2 separate regions of the Homo sapiens genome follow, and region 1 is linked to region 2. The links are contacts of gene promoters, found by promoter capture Hi-C in blood cells and fetal thymus (Javierre and others, 2016). All regions are on one chromosome and are shown on one strand. The core of a region is centred on a gene start or on the middle of the fragment in contact, and the rest is flanking DNA. Distances in the headings are between cores, read along the strand shown.

Region 1 (6,803 bases), core at 2,482-4,981, 160 kb after region 2:
TCAGCCAGCTGTCCTGGGTCTTGCTCAAAGGCTGCTTGGCCCTGAATGAAGCAGAGTCTGTGTTTTTCCTGCGGTAGACTTTAACCTCTGGACCTTCTCCTGCAGCCCTGTCCTCTTATACTGAGCCTTGTGTTTACCTCTCAGGAAATGCCCTGAGTGTGGACTTCTGGTTCAAAGGGCCTTGTCTGGCCTATTGTCTTGGTGGTTTGACTGGGCTCTGCCTGGGGCTTTCACTGTGGCTGCCCTCTGCCTTTGTATTGAGTCATCTTTCTACACTCTCTTCTTTTCACCCCCCTTTCCAGTGGGGCTAAGAAGTGACAGCAGGAGGAAGACAGGTGGGAAGACTATTGTCAAGCCTCCGTACCCACTCAGCCTTCATCCGAGAGCAGGTTATTGTATTGGCTGGAAGACTGACAGCCTAGAACTACAAATTATTCCCAGGTTCCTCCCAGCAGAGAGTGATTAGACTGCCACAGTCCTGACAACTCAGAGGGCACTGCTAGGGAGCCTGCCATACCCCGAGATTACAGGCTGATAGGCAACCACTGCAAAGCCACCCTGGATCCATGAATGATCAACAGAAAGGGGTAATGAAAACCCCAAATTGCTTCCCTCCCACAAAAATGCCCATGTCCACACCCCTCCAGGGAGGGTGATATTAATACTTACAATCATGTCCTCATGGGAGGTATCCACAGTGTTAATTACTGACACCTAGAACCAAAGATATCACTGGTAAATTAACTCATGGCAGTTAGAATACAACCATCTCAAGTTCTTGACTGCATTTGTTTGTTCACTCACTCATTCATTCATTCATTCAGTAAGCATTCATTCTAAGTACCTTCTTTCTGCCAAGCACTGTGCTAGGAACTGGATATACAGACACAAATAAGAGGAACTTTTTGCCCTTGAGAAGCTCGCGAATAATGCTAGTGTCGCAAGATAAATTATTTAATGGTGGTTTGTGTGTCCTGTAGGAGCCTGAGGGGCTGGGGTGGTAGACACGAATTGAGCCCTAGATGATGGGTAGGAATTTGCAGGTGGCACAGGGGAAAATACCAGTCCAAGCAGCCAAGCAGAGGGAATACACGAGTAGAGACAAAGAGGTCTGAGAGAGCCTGATGTGTGTGGGGAAACGGCAAGCAGTCCTGGCTACCCTTAAGGTTGAGGAGAGACCCCAAGGGAGCTACAGCTGGTGTTCCTTTCCTGGATGACAGAGCCTCTGATGTTCCAGGCAGTTTATGCATAACGGGGTTATTACTTCAGACTGGGAGACTTGATTCGAGTGTTTCCTGAGGCTGCTCCCTGGTCCGTCACGTAGTGGGATCCAGAGTTGAACAGTTTGTAGGGCTGGAACATGGTGTCATGGTCATCTCCCTCCTATCTATTCTTTGAGGTCCAGCTCAAAAAGGGCCATCCATCACCTTTCTTGAAGATTCTCAGACCCTCAAATGGCTGGACTCTCTTGCATATCTTCAGCAAGGAACACATACAACACTTTATGCTGTTTCTTCTCCCCACTAGAAGGTGAGCTCCTTGGAGCCATGGTCTGAGCCATCTGCAGTTTCAAATCCCCTCAAATCATCCAGCACAGTGCTTTGCAAATAGAAGGAACTCAGCGACTATTTGCTGAATGAATAAGTAAATGAACAAAAGCTGTTATTTTTTTTCTTTGCTCAACCACTCTTCTCTTAAATTCTTGGGATAGAAAAGAGGACTTAAAAGAAGTTTCAGTGTGGAACAGACATTTCTTACCATTTTCCCCATTTCATCTTTTCCAGCACAAGCCCTGTAGGTATAAAGTTTGACTTGTGATTTCAGAAAGGCAGACAGTGGAAGAGGATGGCTGCAAAGCAGTTCAAGAGGTACACACCAAGTAAGCACAGGTTCTCTCATCAGATTCTAGACTCTCTAAAAACCAGGTCCCCGAAGTCTGCAAAGGCAAGTAAGGACAATAAGGAGTTTCCTCCATGTGCCGAGCTGTATAGGTTACAAAGTGCACAGGAAGGCGGGGAGGGCAGGGTACCAAGGGCACAGTCAATCAGAGACCTGCGACAGACTAAGGAAATGAAGAAGCCCAGAGAAGAGAAAGCACTTGCCAAAGTCACAGAGCTAGTTCAAGGCAGACCTGGGAAAAGAGCCCCATCCCCTAACCTTCTAATGCTGAGTCCACAAAACTTCACTCCACCAGGCTGCCTGTCTAGAATGTAAAGCAGTTGTTACACTGAGTTCTGTAAAGCTGCGGTTAAGTAGGTTCACGAAGAAAGTTTACTGAGAGGTAGTTTCAACCAGGTTACCAAAGGACCTTAGAAATAATCAGCATTTAATTCTAACCACTCTCACCCACCAGTCAGGGTTGATGAACCACACTTCTGAATGAGAGAGAGAGAGAGAGAGAGAGAGAGAGAGAGAAGGCGGGGGGGGGGGGGGGGGAGGAAAGAGGGAGGGGGAGAGAAAAGGACGGAAGGAAGGAGGAAGGGCGGGAGAGAAAGGGAGAGGGAGAGGAAGGGGGGAGGAAGAGGGAGCGGGGAGAGAGAGAGAGAAGAGAGGGAGGGGGAGAGAGAGAAAGGGAGAGGGAGAGGAAGGGGGGAGGGAGAGGGAGTGGGGAGAGAGGGAGGGTGGGGAGAGAGAGAGAGAGAGAGAGAACTTCTTAGAGTACTTCTTCCCAGGGACCTGGTATTATCTGGTCCCTGTTAACACCTGCACTCAAAATAATTCACCTCTTTGAGATCAGATAATGAGTTAAAAATTCATTTAGGATGAGCTGAATGTCAGAGCATAAAAGCCTCAACTCTAACCTGCAGTGGAAGAGCCAGAGGTGAGTGATTTACACCTAACCCTCTGCAGAACAAGAACACAGTGTTCTGATTTCTAGGTTCCTGCAGGTTCCCTCAAACCTGCTGCTGAGACACACCCATGTTTCTAAAAGAATGCATGTACTAGATATTCCAGGCTCAGCCCAGATACTTCCATTCTTTAGTTCTCCTTCAGTCATTCATTCACTCAAGGAGTAAGTGTGGAGTGAATGTACACTGCAGATGCCACAGAGACTTAAAAAACCCTGAGCCCCTGCCTTCGGAGGGTCGTTCAGGCCATCTTTACGTTTCCCGAGGTGCCCATCCTACCTGGGGGCCCTACCCCGAGCAACAGTTCAATCATCTCTGCTGGGAGCTGCAGTAGGCGGCAGAAAGGAATGGTTAGGAGGGTTCAAATCTCGGCTCTACTACCACTTAAGCAGCTGTGCAAGAGGCTCCACGTCTCCGAACCTCAAGTGTCCTCATCTGTAAAGTGTTGAGAAGAATAGCACCTTCTTCACAAGGCTGTTAGCAGGCGGAGATTACGAACAATGCTGAGGGCTCGGTATACAGTAGCTCCTCTGCTGTTCCTCGTTTTGTTTTCAATTGTTGACCGAAAAGAAGGAAGGGAGACTGGCAGGAGACGCAGGAGCGGCGCGCCCCGCAAAGTCAGGGAGGTTCCTCGGCCTCACCTCTGGACTCCCCTCGGAATGGTCCGCAAGGACGGGGCCAGAGCCCCCCAAATCTCTAAGCGGTGGAGGGGAGCTGAACGGCTCCAGCTTGGGATTTGGGACTCAGGACGGCCGAGGAACCCGTGAAGGCCGCGACCGTGGCCTTCACCCTGCTAGGCCTCCTCAGTACCAACACTCACCATGATTGCGGCGGTGGCTGCTCCAGGTCTCGGACGTGGCAGCTCCCGGCGGCGCCTCGGAACAGCTCACTTCCGGCGCCGGGCCCGACGGGCCGTGGCGTAGGAGCCTCCGGGCAGCAACGCGCTCGGCTCGCACAGCAGTTCCGCGCCTTCCAGAGGGCGCGCCCCGCCCTCCCGTGGCCCAGCCCCTATCCTCCAGTGACGTGCGAGACCAGAGGGCTGGGGCTCTGGTTGCCGCAGTTACCCTGACCCGGAGGGCTTTGGAATCTGAAGCTCTGGTGGGTCTACTCTCCCGACCAAGTCTGCCCTTTTCCTGAGATCCATAAATGAAAGAAAGGATTAATATAACTATCGGCCGGGCGCGGTGGCTCATGCCTGTAATCCCAGAACTTTGGGAGGCTGAGCTGGGGGGTGGATCACCTGAGGTCAGGAGTTCGAGACCAGCCTGGCCAACATGGTGAAACCCCGTCTCTACCAAAAATACAAAAATTAGCCGGGCATAGTGGCGCGCGCCTGTAGTCCCAGCTACAGGCTGAGGCAGGAGAATCGCTGGAACCCGGGAGGTGGAGGTTACAGTGAGCCGTGACTGCACCATTGCACTCCAGCCTGGGCAACAGAGAGACACTCTTGTAAAAAAGAAAAAAATCTATCTATCTATCTATCTATCTATCTATCTATCTATCTATCTATCTATCATCTATCTATCTGCAGCTTCACCCGCCTCACTACGGCTCTGGGTGCGACTGGTCTTATGATGAATGTTGTAGGATGAGTGACATCTTAGGAGTAAGTAGACTGTCCTAGTGCTTCCTTGTTGTAGTCTCCCTCTCAGTACCCAAGGACTGGGACCAGGGCAGAGGAGGCCAGGGAATGCCCCTCGCCAGAGGCTGGGACCTCTGGCCCTGCCATCCCTAACCCCTATATAGGACTGCCCCTTCCAAACCGATCCCCTGGGGTCCTGAGTAAGTCCCATCAAGGAGACCCCCCTAGGCAATGAAGGATCTCAGCCAGGCTCCTGCAGCTAGAGCCCCAGACCTAATCCTCAGGGTCCCCAACCCCAGGTCTCTGGCTTCACAAGGTAGGGCAGCTGAAGGCTCCCCACAAGCGCAGTGAGAATGCCACACTGGAGGACAGAGCCTGGGCTCCCCGCCTCAGCCACATATGGTCTAGCCCTGGGCCCCTTGTGACATTAAGGAGGCAGATGAGCTGGGGGAGGCCTTGGCTCCCCTTGGGCAAGTCACAGTCCTTCAGTTTCCTCTGCTGAAACTGGGAGTAAGGACCCTAGCTGGAGATGGTCACTGCTTGAAGGAAGATGTTAAGGCTCAGAGAATGTGATAGACCCAAACTGTCAAGGAGCTTTGGAGGGGAGGCCAGGGGAGTAGGGTGTTAGAATTAAGGGCCAGGCCTCTGGGCAACTCTTCTACCCCACTGCAGCTTTCAAGATTTTTTATTGCCCTCTAGTGGAGAAATTGTTGCAGGGGTGTGAGGGGGTGGTGGTTAGGTTAGAGCAGGGAACAAAGGCAGGTTTCAGGGGATCTCTTGGATCTCCTGTTGTTTTTTTTGTTTTTTTTTTTTTGGAGATGGACTCTAGCTCTGTTGCCCAGGCTGGAGTCCAGTGGTATGATCTTGGCTCACTGCAACCTCTACCTCCCGGGTTCAAGCAATTCTCCTGCCTCAGCCTCCTGAGTAGCTGGGATTACAGGCATGTGCCACCATGCCTGGCTAATTTTTGTAGTTTTAGTAGAGATGGGGTTTCACCATGTTGGCCAGGCTGGTCTCAAACTCCTGACCTCTGGTGATCTACTCTCCTCGGCCTCTCAAAGTGCTGGGATTACAGGTGTGAGCCGCTGCGTCCTGCCAGATCTCCTGTTCTTCAAGGAACAGGCTCTGGCCTTGGCTCTATAGCTGCACCACTGACTTTCTAGGTGATAAGGCCAAGTCACTTTTCTCTGAGCCTCACTTTCTTTGAGTGGAAAATGAGGACAAGGGCATATTAGATGTAAATATAATGCATCAGGCATAATTGTGATTAAAAGAATTTCCTTGTGTAGACACTGATGTTGAAGAGATTGGGGATTTGTGACAAGCAACAGAACTGTATCTTATTCATTAAGGTATTTGCTGTAAGGTATTTGGCCCATAAGGCGCTGTAATATGGCAGTTTAGAGTACAGATGCTGGCATCAAGACTGCTAGGTATCAGTGCTGGATCTCCTGCTTACCAGGTGGGCATGCTCTTCACCTCTTTGAGATGCTGTCTCCTGCTCTTTTGAGTGAGAATTATAATAATACCTCCTCTGAAGGTTGATATTGGGATTAAATGAACCCTTGGATATGAAACTGCGTATGGAAGTCAGATGGGCCTATGGCGCTTGATTTGGGGATCAGTTCAACCTAAGAAGAGCTGTGTGAGTGTGTGAGTGTGTGTGTAACTCTCAACCCTTGGGCCAACCTTAGGGATTACTTGTTGGTCTGGGCATATTCTCTTTCTCTGCCAATGTTCAGCAGAGGTTTGTGAAGTCCAGACTCCTCAGGTGCCAGGCTTCCCTCTGCCTTACCCCTCTCCCCAGTAGGGGGGTGCCACCTAGATCCAGTGTCTGTATTCCGCATCTCCTCCCTCTGGTTAATCCAGACCCCAAATCAGGCCAACTTTCCCTGATTTTTGCCCCCCCACCCCTTGCCCCCAAACCTCCTCCGCTTCGTCCTGAGGCCCCGTTCCCCAGTCTTCTTCTATGAGATGGTCAACCATTCCTCATAGGTTAATGGCTCATGGCAGGGTGAGCCTGTCTCCCTCAAATGGTGGGTGTTCAAAAGGTGTGATCTAGTGGAAGGAGAGAGACTGCCCGCTGAGCTGTGGGCCCTTGGGCAAAGTGCATTTCCCTCCCAGGGACTCAGTTTCCCCCTGAGTTCAACTCCACGAAGGGCGGGGACCCAGCTGTCCTTCAGAAAAAGGCCTTGTGATGTGTACCGTGTCTGCATTTCCACGTGTGCATTTATTGTTATTGCTCAGTATAGTGTTGAAAAGGCAGACAAATCCCATTAATTACAAAGAGCACAAGCCAAAGATACAGAGAAATAAAGAGTGTACAATAAGAGCACAGTCACTTCCCAGCCCCGATTGTCCCAGAGCCCCCC
Region 2 (7,126 bases), core at 3,059-5,558:
AATTACATTCAGCCTCAATAACTGTTTCTAACTGATCCTGGTGGGTGTTGGTCATGGAAAATAGCCAGAGGAAGAAATTAACTGCAAGATCAGAGGAAATTTCTTGTGGTGAGGCAGTATAACACAGCAGAAAGAGCATTTGCTTTGGGTCAGACTTGAGTTGCATCCTGTTGATGCGGGACAGGCAAGCCCCCAAATTGGGGTTTAGCCTGGGAGGGTTCTTAGCTTCACCCAGAAAGGAATTCCAGGGCCAGCCAGTGGTGTTAAATAGCACCTTTTATTGAAATAGCAGTGTGCAGCCGCAGCAGAGGTACTGCTCCTTGCAGGGTAGGGCTACTCCATAGGCAGTGTGCCCAGAGTAGTGGCTCAGAGGCAGTTCTACAGTCACATTTATACACACTTTTAATTATATGCAAATTAAGGGGCAGTTTATGCAGAACATTCTAGAAAGGGGCGGTGACTTCTTGGAGTCGCCATGGCAATGGTAAACTGACAAGGTACACTGGTGGCAGTGTCTTATGCGAGGTACTTCCCACCACACCTGTTTTAGCTAGTCCTCAATTTGGTCCGATGTCCCAGCCATTCCTTTCGAGTCGAGTGCTGCCCCCTACCTCACTGTCACTTGGCCAACTTGGCCCAGTTACAATTGACTTCAGCCTCAGTTTCTTCATCTGTAAAACAGAAACAATAAACCTTTGCAGGGTTGTATGGATTACAGATAATGTATGCTAAATGCCTGCTAGGTGAGTTGGTAGGTGAAGGGCAACCATTAGTAATAGCAAAGACCTTACTTTGAAGAACTTATTCTAAAGAGTGGTAACTGAGATGTGTCCCTGTGATGACCTGCTCAGGCCCAAAATGACTCAAGCTTCTCTGGAAGACAGAATCCTAGGACACAGATCCCAAGCCCTGAGGCTGGGGTGAGAAGGAATTGCGGGAAGGGCCTGAGGATGCAGCAGAGAGAGCAGTGGGGGCTCCTCTGCCTTCCAGGATTGACCAAGGCTGAATGTGAAACTTCCGTGGTCTTAAAGCCTCACCCCAGGGAAGAGGCCCTGTGGCACTGAGGGAGGAGCTCTACACACACGCTGCTTGCGGAAGAGAAGGAGAAGCAGGTAGGGGACTCTGCAAAAAGAGAAAAGGAGAAAAAGAAGAGGATCTTTATTCTCTTTTACCCCCGTGTGCCTGGGATGGAGATGCTTCTCCACCCAGCCTATGGCAAACAATCATTACAGTTCCCAAGTCCACCTTCAGCCACTGCTGAAAACACAGGACTTCACTTGAAAAGTAGTCTCAGAACACTGAAATATGTCCCACTTTCAACATCAAGGAGGACATAATAGTAATCCTTTACTGGGCTCAGCACTTCACAGTTGATCTTGAGCGTTTTGGAGTCCATTTAGGCTTCATAACAATCCTTCCAAGTGGCTGCAGCAGGAGATCCAGTTTCCAAAAGGGAAAACAGAACTGGCTCAAAGGACTAAGAGCCGGAGAGTGGCTGAACCAGGTCTCCAAACTTGATAGGACTCCAAGGCCAGTGGGTGCCTTTTCAAGACCACTAATGACAGCTACCATTTTTTGGGCACATTCTCTGTGCGAGGAAAGCCCTGTAGTAGGTGTTCTATATAGGCTACATAATTTGATTTATTCCACTCCCCTCACAACTCTAAGCAGTAGGAAGGAGCAGGCCCACTTTACAGATGCTGGAAACAAGGCTTGACGAATGAAATGAGTTGTCCAGAGTCACAAAGCCTGTTGGTGGCAGAACTGCAACTTGGCCCTAGGACTTCTCACTTTGATTTCAGCTTCCTCCTTTTGCAGCGCTACTCCATAGCTGACGGCCACAGCTATACAGTGGTACCTACTCTAGTTACTTATCTGCCCTTCGTGACCTCGCCTAACCTCTTGGAATCTATTTACTTCTGTGTAAAATGGGGATAATAATATCTATAGTATAGGCTTGTAAGAATGACATAAGATCATTTTTGCAAAGTACATTGTAGATACAGATAAATGTATCTGTATCTACAATATACTTTAGCCAGTGGTGATGGAGAGCCTGGGGTCAGAATACTTAGGTTCAAATGATTTTAGCCATATTATTTAACCTCTCTGTGCCTTAGTTTCCTTATTTGTAGAATGGGGCTATAACCATACCTACCTCAGAGGGTCATTGTAAGGAGTAAGTAAAGTAACCCAGGTGAAGGCTACACATAGTAAGTGCTCAATAAATACTAGCTATTTTATATATGTGTGTGTGTATTTTATATATATATATATATATATATATATATATATATATGTATACACACACTATAAATTCTGTTCCTTGTACCCTCTTTGTTTATTTAGAGACAGGGTCTCACTCTCACCCAGGCTGGAGTGCAGTGGTGCAATCTTGGCTCACTGCAATCTCCACCTCCTGGGCTCAAGTGATCCCCCTACCTTAGCCTCCCAAGTACCTGGGACTACAGGCACATGCCACCATGCCTGGCTAATTTTTGTAGAGACAGGGTCTTGCTCTGTTTCCCAGGCTGGTCTCGAATTCCTGGGCTCAAGCGATCTGCCTGCCTCTGCCTCCCAAAGTGCTGGGGTTATAGGTGGGAGCCGCCGCACCCAGCCCCTTATACCCTATTTAATAATCCAGTTTGTCCTGCAGTCCCCTGCACCATACTCTGCTTTTTTCCCAGTAATAGTATCATCTAAGATAATGCAATTGGCCACTTGCACTCCCTTTTACCACCCTCTACTTTTATTCTTTCTTTTCTTTCTTTTTTTTTTTTTTTTTTTCAGAGACAGGGTCTCATTCTGTCACTCAGGCTGCAGTGCAGTCATAGCTCACTGCAGCCTCAAACTCCTGGGTTCAAGAGATCCTACCACCTTAGCCTCCTGAGTAGCTGGGACTATAGGTGTACACTACCATGCTTGGCTCATTTTAAAATTTTTTGTAGAGGCCAGGCGTGGTGGCTCATGCCTGTAATCCTAGCACTTTGGGAGGCCGAGGCAGGCGGATCACGAGGTCAGGAGTTCAAGACCATCCTGGCCAACACAGTGAAACCCTGTCTCTACTAAAAATACAAAAATTAGCTGGGCGTGGTGGCGCGTGCCTGTAATCCCAGCTACTCGGGAGACTGAGGCAGGAGAATTGCTTGAACCGGGACCTGGGAGGCAGAGGCTGCAGTGAGCCAAGATTGCGCCACTGCACTCCAGCCTGGGCTACAGAGCAAGACTCCGTCTCAAAAAAAAAAAGTTTTTTGTAGAGATAAGATCTTCCTATGTTGCCCAGGCTTCTACTTTCATTCTCCAACATAGCTTATCTGCCTATTTTTATTGCTTGTTGTCTGTCTCCCTCCAGGACAAGGATTTTGTCCTTCTCTTCAGAGGTATTCCCAGCACCTACAACAGTGCCTGGCACATAGTAGCTGCACGATACATATTAGCTACTATAGTAAAGTCTACCTGACTACCCTATTTAATAGAATATTCCCCATGCTCAATCTGAATTCCTGATTCCCTTTAACCAACTTTTTTTCCTTTTTTTTTTTTTTTGCAATAGTGCTTATTACCTTTAAGACACTCTGTAACATACTATATTTATTATTTATTGTTAGTCTTTCTCTCCACACCTAGATTGTAAGTCTTATGAAAGCAAGGGCTTTTGTAGGCTTTTTTTTTTTTTTTTTTTTTTTTTTGAGACAGAGCCTCACTCTTCACCCAGGCTGGAGTACAAGGGCACAATCTGGGCTTACTGCAACCTCCGCCTCCAGGGTTCAAGCGATTCTTCTGCCTCAGCCTCCCAGGTAGCTGGGACTACAGGCGTGCGCCACCGTGCCCGGCTAATTTTTGTATTTTTAGTAGTGACGGGGTTTCACCATATTGGCCAGGCTAGTCTCGAACTCCTGACCTCGTGATCCGTCCGCCTCGGCCTCCCAAAGTACTGGGATTACAGGAGTGATCCACCGCGCCCGGCTGTAGGGTTTCTTATTCAGGTATTACCAACACCTAGGGAGTTGCCTGGCATACAGTAGGTAATTAATGGAGTATTTGATGAGCGCATGATGCATGGTGTAGTGCCGATGGAAGTGGGGTCAGAAGGCCTCCTGCCGCTGCGGCAGAATTCCCGTGTGGCCTTCTCCCACCAGGGCCTCAGTTTCCCCTCGCAGTTCCGATTCTCTGGCCGGCGCTGGGGTGGAGCCGGCGGGGCCGTCGTGCCGCCCGTGGCCGCTGGGGACGCTGGTGCCCTCCCGCCCCGCCCACTTCCCCGCCGGTCCGCCCCTGGCTAGAGAAGCCGCAGCCCGCAGTGTCCGACCCAGTCGTCCCGCGCCGGAGCCGGCCCCGTAGCGTGCCATGGCCTGCTACATCTACCAGCTGCCCTCCTGGGTGCTGGACGACCTGTGCCGCAACATGGACGCGCTCAGCGAGTGGGACTGGATGGAGTTCGGTGAGTGCGGCCCGGGGAGGGGAGGGGACCAGGGCGACCGGAGCCCCCAGCGATCCCGCCTGGAGCGGCCGCCAAGCTCCCTCGGGCACCCGGGTTCAGCGGGTCCCGATCCGAGGGCGTGCGAGCTGAGCCTCCTGGACCGGGTCCGCCGCGGACCTCGGCCTGTCACCTGAAGGTGCCGCGTGGTCTCTGAGGACGTCTGTCGACGAGCAGGGGCCGCCGCCACTGCGCTCTGAGTCCAGAGAACGGTGGGTACGGGGGCCCTCCTGTCAGCGCTGCTGGCTCGGTGACGTCCCCAGGTGGCCTCTCATCCAGCCCACAACAGCCTGCAAAGTGCGAGCCTCGACCCTGTAGGGACCCACGGTGCTGTCACTTCTTGGGGGGGTGTGTGTGTGTGTGTGTGTGGTGTGTTTAGTTTTAGTGTATATTAGAAGGATCTATGATTTAACATATATATATATATTGAAACGGAGTTTCGCTGTTGTTGCCCAGGCTGGAGTGCAATGGCACGGTCTCGGCTCACTGCAACCTCCACCTCTGGGATTCAAGCGATTTTCCTGCCTCGGCCTCCCGAGTAGCTGGGATTACAGGCGCCCGCTACCACCCTGGCTAATTTTTTGTATTTTCAGTAGAGACCGGGTTTCACCATGTTGGCCAGACTGGTCTTGAACTATTTTTTTTTTTTTTTTTTTTTTTTTTTAAGACGGAGTCTCACTCTGTCGCCCAGGCTGGAGTGCAGTGGCGCGATCTAGGCTCGTTGCAAGCTCCGCCTCCCGGGTTCACGCCATTCTCCTGCCTCAGCCTTCTGAGTAGCTGGGACTACAGGCGCCCGCCACCACGCCCGGCTAACTTTGTATTCTTAGTAGAGACGGGGTTTCACCGTGTTAGCCAGGATGGTCTGGATCTCCTGACCTTGTGATCCGCCCACCCTGGGCCTCCCAAAGTGCTGGGATTACAGGCATGAGCCACCGCGCCCGGCCTCCGGAACTCTTGATCTCAGGCGATCCACCTGCTTCGGCCTCCCAAAGTGCTGGGATTACAGGCGTGAGCCACTGTGCCCAGCCTATTTATCATATTTGTGATTAAATGTACTTTACCATTATAGTTTTAAAATCAGATATTTACTTTTAGTGTACATTGTTTTGATCACAGTATTTATGACTATCAACCTGTTTTGAGATCAGATGTGTCCTAATAGATTCAGTGTGTATAATGGGGCCTAAGCACAAGCACTTACTTTCACTCTATTGCAAGGTGCACAGTTCTAGATAATTCCGTGGGAAGGCACTCAGACAGCCTCCATATGTTTTGTTTGTTGGTGCCTGACGGATGACTGGCGGAGAGGGCCATGGACTCTGCGGGGAGGCCGCTTGCCTGTTGTCTCTGCTTTCCAGGTGGAGATCTGCATTCCAGGCTCTTGCTGTATGACTTTGGGCCAGTTTGTTAACCTCTCTGAGCCTCAGCTTCTGAATCTGTATGTAAACTGGAGATGATAATTATAGCTTCTTCATAAAGTTGTGAGGAATGAAAATACTGTATAAAAGCACTGACACCTAAGTGTTAAATATTCTTATAAGTCATAAGTTGTAATATTCTCTTTTCATTTTTATTTTTTTGAGACAGTCTCATTCTGTGGCCCAGGCTGGAATGCAGTGGCGAGATCTCGGCTCACTGCAGCTTCCGCCTCTTGGATTCAAGTGATTCTCTTGCCTCAGCCTCCCGAGTAGCTGGGATTACAGGCATGTGCCACCACGCCCACTAATTTTTATGTTTTTAGTAGAGATGGGGTTTCGCCATGTTGGCCAGGCTGGTCTCGAACTCCTGACCTCATGTGATTTGGCCGCTTTGGCCTCCCAAAGTGCTGGGATTACAGGCGTGAGCCACTGCTCCTGGACCTGGCTTCACTACTTTGAATGTTTCCTGGGCAGTGAACAAACTTTGTGTGAGACTCCCTCTCATTTTTTCCACATTGGCCCAGCCCTCAGTTACAAATGCCAGAACAACTTCTGTTTCTAGGAAATTCAATTAGAAGGCATACCTATGACTTAAAAAAAAAATAAAGCTTTACTGAGATATTCACATACCATACAATCCACCTGTTTCAGGAGTACAATTTAGTGGTATTTAGTATATTCACAGGGCTGTGTATCCATCTTCACAATCAATCTTAGAACATTTTAATCACCCGAAGAAGAAACTCTGTACCCGTTAACTTCCAATCCCCTCCTTCCATTTTCCTGAGTTTTAGACATTGCCTATTTTGGACATTTCATATAAATGGAATCATATAATATATAGTGCTCTGTGACTGACTTGTTTCAACTAACATGAGGTTCATCCATGTTGTAGCATGCGTCAATACTTAGTTTCTTTTTTTTTTTTTTGAGACGGAGTCTCGCTTTGTCACCCAGGCTGGAGTGCAGTGGCGCAATCTCGGCTCACTGCAAGCTCCACCTCCTGGGTTCATGCCATTCTCCTGCTTCAGCCTCCCTAGCAGCTTGGACTACAGGTGCCTGCCACCATGCCCGGCTAATTTTTTTGTATTTTTAGTAGAGATGGGGTTTCACTGTGTTAGCCAGGATGGTCTTGATCTCCTGACCGTGTAATCCACCTACCTCGGCTTCCCAAAGTGCTGGGATTACAGGCGTGAGCCACCGCGCCCAGCCAGTTTCTTTTTATTGTAGGATA

What was found. The method cuts DNA at HindIII sites, captures the fragments that hold promoters and counts their contacts. A CHiCAGO score of 5 or more calls a contact.
Region 1: a contact is called between the fragment with the promoter of SEC13 here and the fragment with the promoter of IRAK2 in region 2, in 1 of 17 cell types (neutrophils). The highest score is 7.6, in neutrophils.

What each region holds. Positions count from the first base shown.
Region 1 is chr3:10,317,381-10,324,183 of GRCh38, forward strand. It overlaps SEC13 (SEC13 homolog, nuclear pore and COPII component), which reads right to left and starts at 3,732. Exons shown (of 9, transcript NM_183352.3): 1 at 3,670-3,732; 2 at 670-714. The coding sequence starts at 3,672. ATP2B2 (ATPase plasma membrane Ca2+ transporting 2) reads right to left here. Exons shown (of 23, transcript NM_001001331.4): 23 at 6,643-6,803. RefSeq lists enhancers at 3,398-3,697, 3,445-4,040 and a silencer at 3,888-3,967. The HindIII fragment of the contact is 12,357 bases long and covers 1-6,803 here.
Region 2 is chr3:10,160,611-10,167,736 of GRCh38, forward strand. IRAK2 (interleukin 1 receptor associated kinase 2) reads left to right here and starts at 4,309. Exons shown (of 13, transcript NM_001570.4): 1 at 4,309-4,438. The coding sequence starts at 4,345. RefSeq lists silencers at 4,144-4,273, 4,474-4,623. The HindIII fragment of the contact is 5,632 bases long and covers 867-6,498 here.